Regions from separate parts of the Homo sapiens genome. Here region 1 is linked to region 2. The links are contacts of gene promoters, found by promoter capture Hi-C in human tissues and cell types (Jung and others, 2019). All regions are on one chromosome and are shown on one strand. Each heading gives the region's core, a stretch centred on a gene start or on the middle of the fragment in contact. The rest is flanking DNA. Distances are from core to core; before and after follow the strand shown. Region 1 has its middle 61 kb from the start of LINC01216. Region 2 holds the start of METAP1 (methionyl aminopeptidase 1).

The links. The method cuts DNA at HindIII sites, captures the fragments that hold promoters and counts their contacts. A contact is called where the count stands out against the background at its distance.
Region 1: a fragment that was not itself captured here is called in contact with the fragment with the promoter of METAP1 in region 2 in 1 of the 25 tissues and cell types used here (heart right ventricle).

What each region holds. Positions count from the first base shown.
Region 1 is chr4:100,610,876-100,617,154 of GRCh38, forward strand. No RefSeq gene overlaps it. Among named protein-coding and RNA genes, the nearest start is that of LINC01216, 61 kb to the right of the region's middle. The HindIII fragment of the contact is 4,379 bases long and covers 2,061-6,279 here.
Region 2 is chr4:98,993,126-98,999,076 of GRCh38, forward strand. It overlaps METAP1 (methionyl aminopeptidase 1), which reads left to right and starts at 2,596. Exons shown (of 11, transcript NM_015143.3): 1 at 2,596-2,742. The coding sequence starts at 2,629. MIR3684 (microRNA 3684) reads left to right here and starts at 4,262; the gene lies at 4,262-4,335. RefSeq lists enhancers at 2,038-2,087, 3,009-3,791 and silencers at 2,328-2,647, 2,808-3,267. The HindIII fragment of the contact is 14,445 bases long and covers 1-5,300 here.

The DNA of each region.
Region 1 (6,279 bases), core at 3,000-5,499, 1.6 Mb after region 2:
GGTCTTTTGTGGTTACATATTAATTTTATAACTGTTTTTTCTGTTTCTATTAAAAATGCCATTGGAATTTTGAATTAACTCTTTAAATTCATGAACACTAGATATCTTTACATTTGTTTGTGTCTTTTTCAATTCCCTTCACTAATGTTTTATAGTTTTGAATCTACAGATCTTTCACCTCCTTGGTTAAACTTATTCCTTAGTATTTTGTTCTTATTGATACTATTATAAGTGGGATTGTTTTCATAACTTTATTTTCAGACACTTGGTTATTGATGTATAGAAATGGTACTGATTTTTTTGTGTTGATTTTGTATCTTGCAACCTTATAGAATTGGTTTATTCTACCAGTTTTGGGGTTAAGTATTTAGAGTTTTTTATATATAAGATTATGTCACCTGCAAACAGACATGGTTTTACTTTTTTCTTTCTTATTTTAATGCATTTTATTACTTTTCTCATCCAATTGCTCTGGCGTAGACTTCCAATACTGTACTGAATAGAAATAGTGAAAGTGGGCTATTCTTATGTTCCTGATCATAGAGGAGAAGCTTTCACTGAATATGATGTTAGCTCTAGGGTTGTCACCTATGGCCTTTATTTTGCTGAGGCACCTTCTTTTTATACCTAATTTATTGAGGATTTATATCATGTAAGGATGTTGAATTTTGTCGAATGCTTTTTTTCTGCATCTATTGCTATGATCATATGATTTTTATTTTTTATTTCTTAATGTTGTATATCATGTCTACTGATTTGAATATGTTGAACCATACTTGAAATCCAAGGGTAACTCCCACTTGATCACAGTGTATGATCCTTTTAATGTGCTGTTGAAGTTGGTTTGCTAGTGTTTTACTGGGAATGTTTGAATCTCTATTCATCAGGGATATTGCAATGTAATTTTCTTTTCTCATAGTTTCCTTGTTTGGCTTTTATATTAGGGTAATGCTGGCCTTTTAAAATTTGTTTGGAAGTGTTCTCTCCAATTTCTAGGAAGAGTGTGAAAAGGACTGGTGTTAATTCTTCTTTAGATGTTTGGTGCAGTGCACAGTGAAGCCATTTGGCCTTGGATTTTTCTTTGTTGAAAAGATTTTCATTGATTCAATCTTGTTACTTAAATAGTTCCGTTCAGATTTTTTATTTTTTCATGATTCAATCTTGGTATGTTGCATGTTTCAAGGAATTTATTCCTTTCTTCAATGTTATTCAATTGTTGGAGTATAATTATTCAAAGGGTCTCTTATGACCTCTTGTATTTCTGTGGTATTAGTTGTTATGCCTCCTTTTTCATTTTTAATTTTATTTGAGTATTTTCTCATTTTTTCTTAGTCGGGTTTAAAGTTTGTCCATTTTCCTTACTTTTTCAAAAACCCAAATGTTAGCTTTATTTATCCTTTCTATTATTTTCTAGACTTTATTTCATTTGTTTCTACTCTGATCTTTATTATTTTCTTCCTTCCGAAAACTTTGAGCTTAGTTTTTTCTTTTTTCTAGTTCCTTGATGTGTAAACTTAAGTTGCTTATATGAGATTATTCTTCTTTCTTAATGTAACTGTTTAAACTTCCCTTTTAGAATTGCTTTTTCTACATTCCATAAGTTATGGTATGTTGTGTTTATATTTTTATTTGTCTCAACATTTTCTAAATTTCCTTTTGAATTTTTTATTTTATCCTTCGACGGTTAAAAATGTGTTATTTGGCCGGGCACAGTGGCTCACGCCTATAATCCCAGCACTTTGGGAGGCCGAGGCGGGCGGATCACGAGGTCAGGAGATCGAGACCATCCTGGCTAACACGGTGAAACCTCATCTCACTAAAAATAGAAAAAAATAGCAGGGCGTGGTGGCGGGCGCCTGTAATCCCACCTACTTGGGAGGCTGAGGCAGGAGAATGGCATGAACCTGGGAGGTGGGGAGCTTGCAGTGAGCCGAAATCATGCCACTGCACTCCAGCCTGGGCAACAGAGCAAGATTTGTCTCAAAAAAAAAAAAAAAAGTGTTATTCAATTTCCACATATTTGTAAATTTTCTGTTTTTCCTCTCCTGTTACTGATTTCAAGTTTCAAACCATTGTGTTCAGAAAAGATACTTGGTAAAATTTCAATCATATTAAAATTGTTAAGACTTATTTTCTGGCCTAATATATAATCTATCCTGGAAAATATTTCATGTGGGCTTGAAAAAAATGTATATTTTTCTGTTGTGGAATAAATGTTCTGTTTATGTCCATTAGGTTCAGTTGGTGTATAGTATTGTTCAACTTTCCTATTTCCTTATTAATTTTTGGTCCGGATAATCAATCTTTTGTTGAAAGTAGGGTATTGAAGTCCCCTACTATTATTGCATTACTAGCAATTTTTTTCTTCAGATATTTATTTTATATATTTAAGTACTCCAATGTTGGGCACATGCATATTTATAATTATTCTATTCTCTTGATGAATTGACCCCTTTATCATTACATAATGACCTTTTTTGTCTCTTTTTGACAAAACAGACCTTAAGTATAGCTACCCGTGTACTCTTTTGGTTTCCATTTGCATGAAATATCTTTTCCCATTCCTTCATCCTCAACCTATGTGTGCTGTTAAAGCTGAAGCAAATCTTTTGTAGGCAGCATATAGTTGGGTCTTTTATTTTATTTTGATGCAGTTTCAGAGAGACTGCCTTTTGAGGCAGACCTGGATCCTGGTGTCTCAGGGGCTGGACTGGAGCCTGTCTGTGAATGCTCACAGTGCCAGGGTTCACTGGGACAGGCCTGGGGCTGGGGTCTGCAGTGAAGTTGGGTCTTCACTTCACTCTTCTTCTCATATACAAAGGGCATCTCTCTCCATACTGTGATGCCAGGACGTGGGGGAGTGGTGTAACAGGTAATGTGAAACTGTCCTTCCTACCTTTTCAATGTGTCTTTTCTTATTTCTGTGCTCCACCCAGGTGCTGTAAACTCTCACTTGGATTACTTAGCCTTTGTGAAAGTATTTTTATGTGTGGATAGTTGTTCAAATTGATGTTTTTGTAAGGAAATGAGCTCTGAAAACTCCTCTTCCACCACCTTGTTGACATCATTCCTTCATAGTTGTTTTATACTCTGTGTCAGATAATTTCAATAGAAGTGTTTGTGAGTTTATTTTTATTCCTTGTTTTTTTGTTTTTCATTCACAGCGGATACCTTGTTTCTCCATGTGTGCTTTGTTTGCTTTGACAGAAAATTATTTGTAAAATTATTTGGAAGTATAATTTGAGGTTCCGGATAATTATACATGCTGCTAGAGAGGATCTTTGTGGCTTCTTCCAGGCCTTTAGGAGGGTACCGATTCAGGATCAACTTATGTTCAAATCTTATGCTGTGGTAACCAAATGATGGAAGTTGCCTGGAACAAAGATTGATTTACTTCTGGTTTGCCCTTACTCTGAGAATATAGTTCTTTACAGTCTCATCTCAGAGTAGTTGTATAGGGGTGTTTCAAAATCTTTATCTTGGTAACCCCTAGGCTTCCCCCAATACCCACCCACCCTCCAACTCCATATCTTCCACCCACCCCCCCAACCCCACTACACCCCCAGAAGCTTACCAAGCTAGTAAAACCATAGTTGAGTTTCACAGCTGATACTTCCAACTTCAGGGCAAAACACATTTGAACTCTTGGCTTCCCTCTCTAATTTCTTGACTTTTCTTAGGTTTGGGGTGAGTAATTTTTTTTTTTTTTTTTTTTCTGAGACACAGTCTTGCTCTGTTTCCCAGGCTGGAGTGCAGTGGGAGAGATCTCAACTCACTGCAACCTCCACCTCCCGGGTTCAAGCGATTCTCCCACCTCAGCCTCCCAAGTAGCTGGGATTATAGTCACCTGCCATCATGCCCGGCTAATTTTTGTATTTTTGTAGAGATGGGATTTCCCTATGTTGGCCAGATTGGTCTTGAACTCCTGACCTCAGGTGATCTGCCCGCCTCGGCCTCCCAAAGTGCTGGGATTACAGGCGTGAGCCACTGTGCCTGGCCGAGGGTGGATACATGTTTTTCTTAATTTTGGATGGCCAAATGTAACTTATCAACAGTTTTTTGTTTGTTTTCAGGGTTTTTATTTGCTTATTTTGGCTTTCATATTAACATTTCCTTCAGCTCTTTCAGCTATCTTCAGCAGGAGGATTTGGTTCTAATTGCCCAGCTTACTATTACCAAGGTGAAATCTCTTTTACGCTATAGTTGACAAAGAATCATTTACCAAATTTAAAGACATTTAAGTAATTATTTGTTCTATTGGATCGATTTTCTCCTCAAAGACTCGTTATTTATATTCTTAGAACTTAATATGGGGATTACAAACAAAAGGATCCTTTTTCTTTCCTTAAGAACACAGTTTGAAGGAAAAAGCAATGCCCATTTTTCTGGCTAAAAAACTCAGTAATGATTTTCAGTACATTTGAAAATTCATATTGAACTCTAAGTATTTTTGTGCATGTGTTTTGCTATTTAATCGGTAGTAGCTGAAAAAAAATCCAATGGTTGCTATTATTTGTTAATACATTTCTCTCTGTAATATTTTTTATTGAAAAACTATGACTATTTCTATTTAATGCTAATTCATATTTGTATCTGTCACTTCAAATGTGAAAAATGTCAGAGTGCTAGATAAAGCATTAAAATCATATTAGTATTTGTTATATAGCTTTGCAGAATTCTCAGTGTTTTGCTTTCCATCTTTGTAGATTTTTAAATATTTTTCTAATTTTCTTCATTGAATTTGTATTACTTTTATAAGCAACTTTATTTTAAGTGTATTGGCTTTGTACACAACTATATTACCATGACCACAACTATGTAAGCAGAAAATAAAATTTGGAAAACAAAAACTACAAATATTACCACTGCTTAACTCTACATTGTGGGAATAGTAGTGCATATTTAAATACTTTCATGTTTCCAGATTTGTCTAAATGCACTTATTACTCCTTTAATTTACAATAATAACTAACCAAAAATACATACAGAGCTATATGTACAATAACAATATATTTACAATTGTGCTTTAGGAAATTTTCTTTAATTTACAAGGGCATGGGAAGGAGTTACCTCAGATAATCTTTCAAAACTGTGACATTATTTTATTTCAGAAGTATTGATTGCCAAAGGTACTGTGTGACTGCTGCATTGAAAAGGAAGTTCAGATACAAGATGCAGGGTAAAGATAGCTTTAGCAACACATGACAAATTCTTAAATTTAAATAGGAAGAGGGATTAAAATTCTAAGGCGGCTTGAGGATAGGATGGCCATTCTAAGATAGGAATATGAAAAGTTGAGGCAGATTGGAAGGGTTGTGACTAGACCACACTTTGAATACTATTTATTTTTTAAGTTGTTTACTATTTCCAGGTGGAAAGAATTCATTAACCAGAACCCCTATTTTACACAAATAGTTGAATTCATTTGCTAGGGCTGTTATAACAAAGTACCACAGACTGGGTGGCTTAAACAACAGAACTTTATTTTTTCACAGTTCTAGAGGCTGGAAAGCCAAGATCAAGGTGTCAGTTGGGTGTGGTTTCTTCTGCAGCCTCTCTCTTTGGCTTGTAGATGGCTGCCTTCTCCCTTTGTCTTCACATGGTCCTACCTCTGTGTGTGTGCATCCCAGTTATCTCTTTGTGTGTCCAAATTTACTCTTCTTTTAAGGACACTCCTAGGACCAGTCTTAACACTCTCATTTTAACTTAATGACCTCTTTGAAAATCTTATCTTTAAATACTGTCACACTCTAAGATATTAAAGATTAGGGTTTCAACATATGAATTTGGGAAAGGGGACACAAGCCCATAACATTCACCTTCTGGACCTCCACAATTAACATCCTTCTCACGTGAAAAATACATTCTCCCCCCCACTGCCAATTCCAACAGCCCAAAAGTCTCAAACCATTCCAACATCAATGCTAAATCCCAAATCTTATCTAAATATTATCTAAATTACTTGTGTATGAAACTGCAGATATTATTTATTCTGAGAAAAAATTCCTCTCTGGCTGTGAACCTGTAAAACTAGACAACTTACCTGCATCCAAAATTCAGTGGGTGGGACAGGCATAAGATAAGTATTCACATTCTGAAAGGGAAAAATCAGGAAAAAGGAAGAGGTCACTAGTTCCAAGCAAACTCAAAACTAGCAAGGCAAATTCCATCAAATTTTCAGGCCCAAGAATAATCCTCTTTAGCTCGATCTGTCCTCCAGGCTCACCAGGGTAGTAACCTTACCTATTGGGCCCACTGAGGTGACAACAGCGCCTCCAT
Region 2 (5,951 bases), core at 1,346-3,845:
ACACATGATGCTTATTGGTGCATTTACAAACCTTGCACTAGATACAGAGTGCTGATTGGTGTATTCACAATCCCTTAGCTAGACATAAAGATTCTCCAAGTCCCCACCAGATTAGCTAGATACAGAGTGTGGATTGGTGCATCCACAAACCCTGAGCTAGACACAGGGTGCTGATTGGTGTGTTTACAAACCTTGAGCTAGATACGAGTGCTGATTGGTGTATTTACAATCCCTTAGCTAGACATAAAGGTTCTCCAAGTCCCCACTAGACTCAGGAGCCCAGCTGGCTACACCCAGTGGTTCCCGCACTGGGGCCGCAGGTGGAGCTGTCTGCCAGTCCCGAGCTGTAAGCCCACACTCCTGAGCCCTTGGGTGGTCCATGGGACCGGGTGCCCTGGAGCAGGGGGTGGCCCTCGTGGGGAGGCTTGGGCCACGTGGGCAGGAGCCCACGGTGGGGCCGGGGGAGGCTCAGGCATGGCGGGCTGCAGGTCCTGAGCCCTGCCCCGTGGGGAGGCAGGTAAGCCCCGGCAAGAAATCCAGCACAGCACTGGTGGGCCGGCACTGCTGGGGGACCCGGCGCACCCTCCGCAGCTGCTGGCCCAGGTGCTAAGCCCCTCACTGCCCGAGGCCGGCGGGGCCGGCCGGCCGCTCTGAGTGCGGGCCGCCAAGCCCACGCCCACCTGGAACTCTAGCTGGCCCGCAAGCGACGCACGCAGCCGCAGTTGCCACCCGTGCCTCTGCCACCACACCTACCACAAGCTGAGGGAACCGTCTCTGGCCTCGGCCAGCCCAGAGAAGGGCTCCCACGGTGCAGCGGCGGCTGAAGGGCTCCTCAAGCACGGCCAGAATGGGAGCTGAGGCCAGGAGGCACCGAGAGCAAGCAAGGGCTGCGAGGGCTGCCAGCATGCTGTCACCTCGCTGTCACCTCTCACTGTGAGCACCACTGCACTCCAGCCTGGTTGACAGGATGAGATGCTGTCTCAAAGAAAAACCAAACGACAAACAAAAAGTTGACATCATAGTAACTGAAGAAATCAGGTAAGTAAATTACTTTATATGGTATGGTGCAGTTTTTATTTAAAAAATATTTTATACATACATACATACTTATTGATTTTTTTCTTGTATACAAAAGTATATGTATGTATGCATGTAAACATTTCTATTACTTGATTTTATTACATCATTTTTACTGCTTATATTGCAAAACTAAGTTTTTTTTTTTTTGAGACATGGTCTTGCTCTGCCGTTTGGGCTGGAGTGCAGTGGCAGGATCATAGCTTACCATATCCTTGACTTCTCAGGTTCAACAGATCCTCCCAGCTCAGCCTCCTCAGTAGCTGGGACTACAGGCGCCTGCCACCATGCCCGGCTAATTTTTTAGTTTTTAGTTTTAGTTTTTGTAGAGACGGGGTTTTGCCATATTTCCACCCTGGTCTCGAACTCCTGGCCTCAAAGAATCCGCTGGCCTTGGTGCCCTGGATGCCCTGGCCTCTCAAAGTGCTGGGATTGATTACAGGCGTCAGCCACCGCTCCTAGCCAAAACAAAGTTCTTAAAAATAAAAGTAGTATGAGCTTTTCTGGTGTATTAAGTACGGAGAAGTTAAAAAAATACAATAACAAAGTTCACAGCCTTTTGTGATCAGTAAATGTTAGTTTTTCGCTCTTCCCTAGTGACAAGGAGGCACTCAAGCATGAGTTACAACACAACCGACCTGGAATACAGCTGAAAAGATTGAAGCAACAGGTTCGCAGGGGAAGGCCTTTACAGCTTCTTTCGACTCTGACATTTCAGGATCAGCACAATTCTCCCCTATTTACTGCTGAAGCAATCAACTGGGATTATACAAAAAAATTATTTGTATTGAATACCTGACAGTTGTGTTACTATTACTAGCACTATCGGTTTTGAAGGGGAGGTGGTGGTGTGTGGAAAAAAAAAGTCTGGCAGGAGGGAGGGCAGATGTGAATCCCAGCCCACCGTCCCGTTGACAGCTCTATGGCTCTCCTTTCTGTGAATGAGCGGTGGTCCTTAGGCCTCAGACCCGACAATGTCAGTGAGAAACAGAACTTAACCCAAGGGACTGTTCTCCAAGGAGCGGCGGGGGAATCCAACGCAGAGGAGCGCAGCGCCCTCTCTAGCCTCCTGCGGGTGTCGGGGATGATCAGGGCTCCTGGGTGTTCGTCAGTGAAGACGACTGTCTTATCTGACTGTAGGCACAGAGAGTGCGCCGCGAGAGGGCGGCTCCTCACCGTCAGGCGCCGGCAGGTCGCGTTCTCTGCTGGCCGACGCCCGAAGGCGCCGAATGGGGGGGCCCTGCCGAGCTCCCTTACAGCCCCAATGTGCGCGCCGCCGGGAGGCTTGGGCACGCAGGCACCGCCGGCGGGGGGCGGGGCGAAGCCGGCGGGGCGGGGCACCAGCTGCGCGCGCGGGGCGGGGGCGGGGCCGGGGCGGGGCGCGCTGCGTGGTCCCGGCCGGCCCTGGCTCCTCCCCCTCCCGCGCCCAGGCCAGCGGCGGGCCCAGCTCCTCCCCCGACTCGGTCTCTCTCCCCTCCCCTCCGCCCGGCAGTTCCTCCCTCCCGCCGCCGCCTCTTCCTCGGTGAGGCGCTCTTCCAGCGGGCAGGCAGCATGGCGGCCGTGGAGACGCGGGTGTGCGAGACAGACGGCTGCAGCAGTGAGGCCAAGCTCCAGTGTCCCACTTGCATCAAGCTGGGCATCCAGGGCTCGTACTTCTGCTCGCAGGTAGGCGCCCGCTGCCCCGCGGATATGCCGCCGCTGCGGGACCCCTCCTCGCTTCTCCCCTGCTGGCTCCTCCCGCCCTTGCGGCGAGTCGGGACGCGCTCCTCCTCTTCCCCCCGGCCGCGTTTCCTCCTCCCCCCACCCGCGTCGCCACCGCCCCCTCCTGCCTCCTGGGGTCCCTGGGTCCTCGGGAACCGCGCTGGGCTCACGCGGGGGCGGGGGCGCCACCCGCCGCGGCCATGTGGGCTGGGGCGGAAGCGGGCTGTGCGGGGTCGCGTGGCCGCGCTAGACCTCCGCGTTCTGGGGCCGGTTCCCCGCGCTGGGGCGGGGGCCGCCAGGTGTGCGGGCTGCCGGAGGCAGGTAGCGGCGCCGGGAAGGAGGGCAGCCCGAGCGTCGCGAGCCTCCACATCCGCAGCACCGGCGGGGCTCGGGTCTGGGCGCTGGAGGCGCCGGGCCGTCCGTCGGGTCCCTGCGGGGTGGGGGGCTGAAGCTACCTGCCGGGCTCTGAGAGATGGGTGGCCCGAGGACCGTCGGAGTCGCAGAGAGGAGGAACGCTAGCTAGCTCCAGCCCCACTTCTTTGTGCTTTACTACCGTGCTTTGACACTTAAGCAACTTTGGGGGTGGGGAAGGGAGAGGTCTGTGTAATTCATTCTTTTCTTTCGGTATATAAAATTATTAATTTACAAAACTGTAAGCTAACGGGATGAGTCACCTGTGACTGAATTTCCCAGAGTGAAAAGGACAGTTCCATTGAGGGTTAGGCGTGAATGCTGTAGTGTATTTTAAGTTTTGTGCAGTAGAGCAAACCCAGCGTTGAATGGGGTCCAGACTGAAGCGTGTGCTCGTGTTTCTGTTTACTGAAGAGTACTAGTGTTGCTGCTGCATTTCGAGACCCAGGATGAGGGCTGGGCGGCAATAGTATGGCTCTTAGTTACAGTCCAGGTTTAGTGAAGAGAGGCACATGAATATTCAAATATTAAATTGGTAGCGTCCTGTGGGGAGGAGAGCCGGAATAAAGAGAAGGCCTGATTGGGGCCCTGCCCTTGCCAGTTATTGTGCGATCTTGAATTAGTAAAGTTACTTAATCTTTCTGAGTTCCAGTGTTACACTGTACAGAGGGGATGATTATAGCTTTCTTTGTAAGTTTCACAAGCTTCTTCTGAGACCCAGATTATCCAAGGAACGTGAAATGCTGTTATAATGTAAAGTCCTTTATTTTTTAAAGGATTCTAGTACGATTTAACTCTGCCATAAATAAAAATATGAATAAGAATGAAGGCAGATATATGAACACAATACAAATAATAAAAGTGTTTTCCAACATAAAACATAAAAACGTAAAGATATAAATAAATACAATCTTTACGTCACAATATTTGTAGATAAGCGATTGCAAAAGGTCTTAGCTGTGTTATACAGTCTTGTTTTTAGATAGGATATGATCCTTGACCTTGTTAGTATAATTTGGAAAAACTTGCACGTGGAGGAGTGTTGCTTGATCTAAAAATAGCATTACCGAACAATCTAAAGGACCTGTACTAGGTTTAACATGTTGAGCATTACTCATGTTAGACCTAGTACACGTCCTTTAGATTCTTTAAAATTCCCAAATTCTATCTTGTTGTGGCCTGTGTGGGACCTGAAATTAAGAAACAGTGTTTGCTTTTGACAGTTGTACCATCTGAGTAGAATAACTTTAAAAGTAGGTGGCATTTTGAATTAATATGTATTACAATCTTCTGTTAAGATTTTAAAAAGGTAGTGTGAAACCACATTCATGAAACAGGTAGAAAGAAGGTGAATCACTGGGGTTTGTGGAAAAATGCTAGACAAATTTGTGAAAACAAAACATCTAGGGTTTATTCCGTGTGTTAGGATTGGAGGTATTTACATGTTGGATTCTGCAGGTATATTTCTGGTATCACTGTTAGACATGCACTCAAATATTCCCAGAGTGGCTGTCCCAACTGTCTCTTTTTCTTCATTTCTGTTACCACCTCCTATGGTCAGCTTTTAAAATTTCCCACCAAATCAGTTGTCATACTCTCTTAATTTATTTCTCTACTGTAATTCCTCCCCTTGCAAACAAACGCCCACAAAAAACCCTATCAAACAAAACCTTTTGTACAGAAGTTATTTTTCCCGCAGTCTGATTATGCGTATCCCTCATTGCTTTCAGGATTCCAGCCCCACATTCAGGGCCCCTCTTCTGAGCCTCTTGCTCTAGCCAAAGGCTATGTTTACATTCTTTCCTTTCCGAAGTGTCACCTGTCTTCTGAAATCACAGCTGTTCCCCCAATCCCAGCTTGAGACCTTGATCAAGTCACTGTAACTTATTCTAAGCGCTTTATACATCTGTGATGAAATATGGGCTTGGCTGGGCATGGTGGCTCACACCTGTAATCTCAGCACTTTGGGAGGCCTAGGCGGGTGGATCACCTGAGGTCAGGAGTTTGAGACCAGACTGGGCAACATGTCAAAACCCTGTCTCTACTAAAAATACAAAAATTAGCTGGGCGTGGTGGCACACGCCTGTAGTCCCAGCTACTCAGGAGGCTGAGACACAAGAATCACTTGAACCTGGGTGGTGGAGGTTGCAGTGAGCCGAGGTTGCACCACTGCACTCTATCCTGGGCAACAGAGCAAGACTCCGTCTCAAGAAAAAAACAAAAACAAAACAAAACAAAAAACCAAAAAGAAGAAATTAGGGATTTTCCTTAACACTTCTGTGATCACTAGGAGGTCTTTCTTTCTACTGCTCTGGTCCCTGGCCTGGCTGTCTGGCCAGCTTGTCTTTGGGAACAAACAGAACAAAACTGCAAGAGGCCTTTCTATCACACCATTAACAGAAGTAAGGCATTCCCAGTTACTCTGTCACACCACCTTGTTTATTCCTTTATGACCTTTTGTGCAATCTATGATTACCTCACCTGTTAGAAAAATGAGGATTTTTTTTTTTTTTGAGACGGAGTTTCGCTTTTGTTGCCCAGGCTGGAGTGCAATGGTGCGATCTCGACTCACCGCAACCTCCGCCTCCCAGGTTCAAGCAGTTCTCCTGCCTCAGCCTCGCAAGTAGATGGAATTACAGGCATGCACCACCACGCTCAGCTAATTTTGTATTTTTAGCAGAGATGGGGTTTCTCCATGTTGAGGCTGGTCTCGAACTGCTGACCTCAGGTGATCCACCCTCCTTGGCCTCCCAAAGTGCTGG